3 separate regions of the Homo sapiens genome follow, and all the other regions are linked to region 1. Evidence: promoter capture Hi-C in 16 types of primary human blood cells and fetal thymus (Javierre and others, 2016). All regions are on one chromosome and are shown on one strand. The core of a region is centred on a gene start or on the middle of the fragment in contact, and the rest is flanking DNA. Distances in the headings are between cores, read along the strand shown. Region 1 holds the start of GREM1 (gremlin 1, DAN family BMP antagonist). Region 2 overlaps FMN1 (formin 1). Region 3 overlaps FMN1 (formin 1).

The links. Contacts are between HindIII fragments. The CHiCAGO score rates a contact against its expected background, and 5 or more counts as called.
Region 2: a fragment that was not itself captured here is called in contact with the fragment with the promoter of GREM1 in region 1 in 4 of 17 cell types (M0 macrophages, M2 macrophages, M1 macrophages and 1 more); the score reaches 12.1 in M0 macrophages.
Region 3: a contact is called between a fragment that was not itself captured here and the fragment with the promoter of GREM1 in region 1, in 6 of 17 cell types (M2 macrophages, M1 macrophages, M0 macrophages and 3 more). The highest score is 11.1, in M2 macrophages.

The regions. Positions count from the first base shown.
Region 1 is chr15:32,716,572-32,719,362 of GRCh38, forward strand. GREM1 (gremlin 1, DAN family BMP antagonist) reads left to right here and starts at 1,433. Exons shown (of 2, transcript NM_013372.7): 1 at 1,433-1,590. It overlaps GREM1-AS1 (GREM1 antisense RNA 1), which reads right to left and starts at 2,294. Exons shown (of 2, transcript NR_109767.1): 1 at 1,974-2,294; 2 at 1,530-1,793. RefSeq lists enhancers at 939-1,439, 1,577-2,155, 2,156-2,733. The HindIII fragment of the contact is 6,086 bases long and covers 1-2,791 here.
Region 2 is chr15:32,959,620-32,962,410 of GRCh38, forward strand. The region is part of intron 9 of FMN1 (formin 1); the gene reads right to left. Among named protein-coding and RNA genes, the nearest start is that of FMN1, 230 kb to the right of the region's middle. The HindIII fragment of the contact is 6,719 bases long and covers 1-2,791 here.
Region 3 is chr15:32,940,797-32,943,587 of GRCh38, forward strand. The region is part of intron 9 of FMN1 (formin 1); the gene reads right to left. Among named protein-coding and RNA genes, the nearest start is that of GREM1-AS1, 220 kb to the left of the region's middle. The HindIII fragment of the contact is 4,431 bases long and covers 1-2,791 here.

The DNA.
Region 1 (2,791 bases), core at 183-2,682:
TAGAAACTGCCATCTGCACAAACAAAACATTGAGAGGACTAAGATTTTAAGGATACTAATGCAGACGTCCTTCTTGCTTCATTTATTTAAAAATATCTATTTCACGTTCCTAACAGCATCTAGTAGATGTTTCTTGCTTCTTCCCCCTAACGCCGGACTAAAGAGAAAAAAAAAATAGGCTGTTTTCTGGTCTGGTTTTGTTTTCCTAGTCAAGTACTTAAATTACGGGTGTTTCGTAAGTATCTTTTGATGGATTTCATTGTTTTGTTTATTTCGCGTTAGACAATACAGACACCTTCATATTTCCTTCTGTAGCAAATCTTTTTCAAAGTCTTCATTTGACGTGGCTGATGGAGCTGGTCTGCAGATCTTGCAGACGTGTTAATTTTTGCACGGACTTTAGCTTCAACACACAAAACTTACGGCCTCTTTGAGGAACCAATTTTTCAGGCTAAGAGAACAAATGAAAGTGTTCGCTCATCTTTCGAAAACTATTTATGTACTTGGTATCCGGAATGTGACATTGGTTTTACACGTCGGTAGGTTTTTGTCCTAAATTTCTGGGAAGTTACTTCCTCATCTAACGTTTTATTTTCCTGACTTATTCGTCTTTGATATGCTACAGAAAACCCCTCTCGCCCAGTGGCTGTTTTCTCTCTGTCTCTTAAGATAATTTAGGAACAGAAGCCTTGACTTTTGACGGTCATTTAGTTTTATTCTCCTCCCGTGACTCCCCTCTGTACACTCACAGGGGAGGCCGCCGGCATCTGGGCTGAAAGAACCCTTGGCGGGCGAGGAGAGCAGGGTGTCATGTTGGCGACAGGCTCCTGCTGGCGGCCAGCGAGCCCGCCAGGTTAACGGGGGCGCCGGGGTCAGCGCCCTCGAAGTTGGGGGCCTCGGGCGGGGCCGCCGGGGAGCCACGACGGCCGCTCGACCAGAGCATCCCGCAGTCCCGTTCCCTCCAGAGGGGAAGAATGGCCGAATCTGGCACGATCCCACGGAGATCTCGCTCTTCCCAGCGCAGTCTCCGCTACTGAGCGCGGGACCAACGCAGGCGATGCCGGGCGGCCGACAGGGAAAGCCCAGACCTGGGGCAGAGAAGGAATGAGGGGCCGCCAGCCGGGGGGATTTCCTCCCGCTCTTCCCTCTCCAACGGGAGCGGAAAATGTGATTTGCTGTGCATTCCAGGCGCGGTTCCCTGGGGTGACCTCTCCCAGCCGGCCCGGGCGGGGGGAGCAGACAAAGAGGCGAGGCGGGCGGAGAGGGGACCCCGCGGGGAAGCAGGAGGGGTGCGGGGGGCGGGGGCAGTACCGGGAAAGGGGGCGGATAGCGGGTCTGGCGGCGGCGGCGGCGCCTGGCCAATGGAGAGGCGCGGCCCCGGGCGCCGCGCTCTGCCGCCGGCATTTAAACGGGAGACGGCGCGATGCCTGGCACTCGGTGCGCCTTCCGCGGACCGGGCGACCCAGTGCACGGCCGCCGCGTCACTCTCGGTCCCGCTGACCCCGCGCCGAGCCCCGGCGGCTCTGGCCGCGGCCGCACTCAGCGCCACGCGTCGAAAGCGCAGGCCCCGAGGACCCGCCGCACTGACAGGTGAGCGCGGACGCACCCGGCAGGGATGTGAGTGGGCGGAGGGAAGAGGGCCGCAAACCAACCCAGGACCCGCTCAGTTCCACGCGCGGCAGCCCTCCGTGCGCGCAGGCTCGGGTGCGTTGTTCGCGGGGGTGAATTGTGAAGAACCATCGCGGGGTCCTTCCTGCTGAGGCCGCGGACACCGTGACCTCGCTGCTCTGGGTCTGCAGGGAAACGTAGGAAAAAAAGTTGTCAGGAGCGGGCAGGATGACCCCCACATCCCGTTTCCACCTCCCGGAGGCCCCCGAACACGCTCCTGGTGCTGGTGGCAGCAGCGCCTGGCAGACGCGCCCGCTTAGCGAGGGCGCGAAGTCCAGGCCGCCAGAGCGCAGGAGCATCCGGACCTGCTAGTCGGCCGCTGACTGCGCGGCGAGTTGCCTTGAGAGGGTCCCATGTGCTTGGGGCGCCGCGCTGGGTCTGGGGGCGTCTTGGGGCGCCCATTGGAGTCCGCGGGTTGGAGCATCCGGAGAATCCATGATGTGTGCATTTGCCGATCCCCGAGGTGAGATGGAGACTGGCAAGGGCAGAGCCGCTGTGTTCAGCCACAGCGGAAAACCGAACGGTGGGTAATCCGACAGCTGCGGTGCGGGGCGCGGCCCTGGCCGCGGGGTCCAGCGAACCCGCAGTGCTCACAAGGCAGACACCACACGCGCTCGCGGACCGGCCACGCACTCGCGGGCGCTCGCTTCTCTACTCCAGCCTCTTCCCCGCCCCGCGCACGCCCGGGCTGAATGGTAGACGTTCTGGCGCCGGGCAGCGGCCACCGGCTGGTTCCCACTTCCGCGCGCACCCCTTAAACTGTGTTCTAGAGGCCCCAGCCTCGCCTTGCAGCGCCTCACTAGCTCCTGAGGACTAGGGACTGGCGGCTGAGGCGGGTTGGCGGCTGCAACGAGCTGGGCGTCTTTCGTTCTCTCTCGCTGCCTGGCTGGCTCCGCTGGCCCCTCCACAGCTTGCGGAGCAAGGCCATAGCAGGGGAGTGGGAGGTATATTGGGGCTGTCACCTCCTTGCTGGCCGGAGTTATTTGTAGACTACAGACTCCGGAAGAACAGACGCGCCACCGCTCTCGCTTGGCATTGCCTTCGGATCGCAGCTCCTCCTTGGGGGTGCCCCAGCTTGGCGTTTATTTGCCTGCGCCAGGCTCTGGCGACGGTCACCGGGCCA
Region 2 (2,791 bases), core at 166-2,665, 240 kb after region 1:
GAAAACTTAAAGAGTTTAAATGAAGTGTTATTTTCCCCCTCAGACAGAGAAACAAAATAAATGTTATCAAGTACTAACTGCCTTAAACTCCTTTGTTGAACAGGCAAACTATTATAAGAAAAGAAATAATAAATGACCAAATGCTTTGATGTTTAAAAACAAATATTCATTCACCAAAACAGAAGTGAATAGTTCTATGAGTAAACAACATGTTTTCAAGCATCTGGAGAGAAACAAAAAGAGTAATAGCAATCTAAGAAGCAATAAAGAACAAAAGTAAATTTAATACGATCCTGCATAAGAAAGCATTCAGAGGAGATTCTGGTGAGTTCAGGCAAGCCTTCCTGAAAGAGGCAAACTGAAGTTGGCTTTGGAATATACAGATTTTCCTTTTGCCATTCAGGTAGAAACAAGTCTTCTGCTTCTATAGATGGCATTTAAAAAGCCAGCCTGGCTACAAAGCAGGCTTACCTCCATCTCATATGAATCTAATTGCATGGGAATACATTCTATGTAAATCAGCTGACCTTTTTTTGCCCGGATTTGTCTGGAACTTACTATTTGTATTAATCCATTTTCGCACTGCTATAAAGATACTACCAACATGGCAGCAGGAGAGAGAGGGTGGGGTGAGAGCGGCACCAGAAACTTATGGAACAACCAAATCTCGTGAGAACTCACTCACTATCAGGAGAACAGAAAGGGAAATCCACCCCCATGATTTAATCGCCTCCCACCAGGTCCCTCCTAGACACGTGGGTACAATTTGACATGATATTTGGGTGGGGTCACAGAGCCAATTTATTAGAAAAATTCAAATTGTTCCATGCAATATAGCCTTTTAAAATTTTCCTTTAATACTTCTTTGGATATTTTTCTCAAGACAACACAATTACAGTGACCTTGAGAAACATTTTGATCATGATTTTTATCCGTAATTGAAGTCAGTGGGAAAATCTGATTTGATTAACAGAAAACTGAATTCAGACATTTTCCTTTTTTCCCCTGTAATTTGCAGCTAATTTCATAATCATTACATTACTTGAGAAATGAACTGATGATGAACCCCATGATGTAATTTAACAAGGAAACGTAGCCTGGCACGGTGGCTCACGCCTGTAATCCCAGCATTTTGGGAGGGTGAGGTGGGCAGATCACCTGAGGTCAGAAGTTCGAGACCAACCTGGCCAACTTGGTGAAAACCTGTCTCTACTAAAAATACAAAATTAGCCGGGCATGGTGGTGCATGCCTGTAATCCTAGCTACTCGGGAGGCTGAAGCAGGAGAATTGCTTGAACCCCAGAGGCAGAGGTTGCAGTGAGCCGAGATCACACCATTGCACTCCCACCTAGATGACAAGAGTGAGACTCCGTCTCAAAAAAAAAAAAAAAAAAAAAAAAGGCAGGGTTGATGGTATCATTCAATATTACATACTTTTCAAAACACTGCCTCAAACCTGCTTAGATGTGAATTTCACAACATACTGGTGGGTCAGGTAGATTCAGATATTGTTCATCTTTTTTTTTTTTTTTAGACGGAGTTTTGCTCTTGTTGCCCAGGCTGGGGTGCAATGCGGCAATCTCAGCTCACTGCAACCTCTGCCTCCTGGGTTAAAGCGATTCTCCTGCCTCAGCCTCCCGAGTAGCTGAGATTACAGGCGCCCGCCACCACACCTGGCTAATATTTGTGTTTTTAGTAGAGACGGGGTTTCCCGAAATTGGCCAGGCTGGTGTCGAACTCCTGACCTCAGCTGATTCACCCACCTCAGCCTCCCAAAGTGCTAGGATTATAGGCATGAGCCACCGTACCCGGCCTGTAATCCTTTTTTATAGAGAAGGGAAAATACGACAAGGAAGACAACCAGCCCAAGCTCACATAGCAAGTCAATAGCAACACAGAGTACTATACTTTTTCCTCAACACCATTTCTGCTACTATTAAAAATAAGAAAAACTAACCAACCAAACAAAAACCCACTAAAACAGGGAAATGGTAGCCGTAGTAGTAACAGTAGCAAAAACAAGAGCAGCTGTCATATGTTGAGCACTGACAGTGAGCCAGGCACTATGCTGAGCCTGATACATGGATTACCCCATTGAATAATTACTTAGAGAACATTATGAGCAGATATCATCTCAGGCTATGGTGCAGGGACCCAGACACAGAGAGTGAAAGGACCTAGTACCGTTGCCTCAGATCTCACAGTCAATGTGTGGCAGAGGTGTGATTCGTCCTCATGGTTGTCTCTGACTGCCTGACAGTCCTAAACTCATTCTCTTACAGAAAGCTGGTGCCTCTCAAGTTTTTGAGTCCTTGAGTCACTACTCAGAAGCCACCGTCATAATGAGGTCTACCCTGAACACCCCATTTAAAATTGCAGACCTCACCCCCACCCTACTAAAGTCGACCCTCCTTCCCCTGCACTACTATGTGATTGACAGGGTTTATGTTTAGTGTTTGTTAATATAAGCTCCACAGGGCAAGGATTTATTATTATTATTATTATTATTATTTTACTTTTATTTTTTGCCCTCAACACATACCAATGCTTAAGACAGTGCTGTCCAACAGAGCTTTTTATACAATGGAAATGTTTTACATCTATGCTATCCAATACAGCAGCCACTAGGCATAAGAACAAAATTGGAAAGTCGAAAACTGGCTAGCCATATGTAGAAAGCTGAAACTGGATCCCTTCCTTACACTTTATACAAAGATCAATTCAAGATGGATTAAAGACTTAAACGTTAGACCTAAAACCATAAAAACCCTAGAAGAAAACCTAGGCATTA
Region 3 (2,791 bases), core at 174-2,673, 220 kb after region 1:
ACAGAAAGGACTCTTACCATTCTTCATGGCCACTAGGGTAAAGGTTCTTCCGGGCATTAAGACCCAATAGCAGCAGAGGCTTTCACAAAACCATGAGGTCAGTTTATCACATTTGATTGTTAGACGTTAGTGGGATTCCTGACTGTATTAGCATCCAGCTTCATCATATTAAAAGGAGTTAGTTAGCTTGCCTTAGGTAAATAACAAAGGAAAGGTTCCCCAAAAGCCCCGGCCCACAGGTTAGTGCCTTATCCCCACGTAACATAAAAAGCAGCCTGCGAAAAAAATCAAGCTGCAGGAACCAATAATATGAATGTCAAAATAATTATTTTCCATGTTTACGTGAAGCCAGTAGATAGAATTTATGCTTTAAGCTCCCAACTTGATTTTATTCCATGTAGGTTCTTGGGGGGAAAAGTGGCTACTACAGGCTGTTCAGGAAAGATAGTTCAGAAAACATTTACTGGAGAGTGTAAGTATTTGTAAGATTTTGCTTATCCAATGTTACTCTGGTTGAATTGGATTTTGGAGTCATTTAACACTTAGCACTGAAGAAACCTACAAATTTCATCTAATTTATCCCTCTGCCTTTGGGTTGGCCCAGAAGTCCACGTATGTAAGTATAGACCTTACTTTACAAGAATGTGCACACTTCATTATAAAGGTTACATTTAGATAATGCACACATTTATAGCCATTTTCTCTCAAACAATACAACAGAGCACTACTTCAGCTAATTGTAAATACAAATTAAACTGTTCATTCCACTCCTAGTCTATGATCCCTTATCATACTCACTTTTCATTCTTCTTTGTCCTCATATGCATATTACCTGATGTGTAATAATCCTCCAAGTCATTTTCTAGTATTAAGAGACTTTTGGCAGTGAACTATTTTACCTGATGTTTGGCTCAAATTCCTCATGCTCCCATTTTGAACCATCTTTTTCTGCTCTCAGGGAAGGTAGGAAACAGCTGGTCACCATCCCCTACACTAAGCTCCTTCAGAAACCTCAAGATCACCATTTTTTTTTAAACAAGAGATGTTTTATATCAGATTGTTAAAAATCAGTTTTTGAGGGACGTTAGCAAGCCCTCACTTTATCTCCGCCCTATCTAGAGTCAGCTGAACTTGGCAGCACATGGCTTTCTCCTAGGTATAATTACAGTCTGGAGGAGAATGCAATTTGTGCAGCATTCCACTGACCTACAAGCTGACCTTGTGCAGGGGCAAATTCACAGGTTGCGTTAAACCCTATTAGACATGCCTAGTTTAAGGCAAAGCCTTTCCAGACCCCTGCCACATGCCAGGATTAGGGCATGTCACACGTGCGTACTATTACATCGCCTAAGGGACTCTCCCAATGCCTTCCAGAGTGGGAAAGGCAGGCCCACACTGTCTAAACCTGTACATTAAGCCAGTATAGACAAATTATTATTATTCCTCACATATGTGAATTTTTTTAAAGCCTGCCTCTGTGAATAAGAATTAAGACAAAAATGGGAAGACAGATTTGCTACACTGGGAAAATCATACCTTCAACCTCAGCTAGAAAAGTTCTGCCAGACAGGCTGAGAAAGAATTCTTGTCAGGTCCAGTGGGATTTTTACATCTACAGAAAATCTGTACACTGTATATCTTCGGCTTTCTGCCTGAGCTTGGCAGACAGGGCCAAAAATAAAAATAAATGGTTCTGAATAGACCACAAGTGCTGGAAGTCTGCTCAGCCAAGTGAGTTTGGCATAGCTACAAAATTAAGAGAAACACAGAAGCCCTCTTCTTCCATGGAGCCTTCCCTGTCTGAAAGGAAGATGATTAATTTCTACATCTACACCTTTGCTAGACACCAAACACATTCATACCTATACCAGATCGAGTGCATATTTTGCTCTTTGGCTTAAGTTTCACATTTGAACATACTCAGTTCCAGTCACAGGGTTTCCATCTCCAGCACAGTCAGTTTTATCCTAGAGCCTGGCAAATAAGCAGAGAGTTTTTTCAAATACAGCCACATGTGCTATCACCAATGAATAGCTGCTGGCACTTCAGGGAACTAAGGGCATGTGAAAGTTGCTGCTTTTCCTGTCTGAATCAACTATTTCACCCCACCAAAAACAAACAAATAAATGTAGAAACCATATATATATGAGTAGACATTTACTTTCATGACAATGATATACAGGTCGAGCATCCCAAATTCAAAACTCAAGAACTCCAAAATACGAAGTATTTCAAAATCCAGAACTTTTTCAGCGCTGGTACAGTGCTCAAGGAAAATGCTCAGTGGGGTATTTCAGGTCTTGGATTTTCAGATTTGGAATGCTCAACTGGAAAATTTGAAATCTGAAACGTTTCTGGTCTCAACCATTTCAGATAAGGGATACTCGACCTGTATACCAAATATCCACATAGGGTACACGGTCAGCTATATAGAACAAGTGTGTAAATGATCTGGCCTTTCTTGGTAAGATTGAACAACAGCGTGGAGAATTCACATAAATTAGACAATCTGATTCTCCCAAGTACAATTCTAAAAAATACAACTTCTATTTTTGTGCCATCAAACTAGTGTTATCTCTTGCTTATGCTTCACATCAATACTCGCTGAATTCCACCACCTGGCCAAACTATGGACATTAAGAGGCTGGTTGGTAAAAAGTAGATATGCTACTGATGACAAGTCAGCTTGTCTTAGTAACAGTCATCCCACTTCTAAGTCATGGGCTTCCAAATAGATAAAGGTACCTTCATAATGACTGTTATGTTTCTCTTTAAGACATTCTTGTGGAGT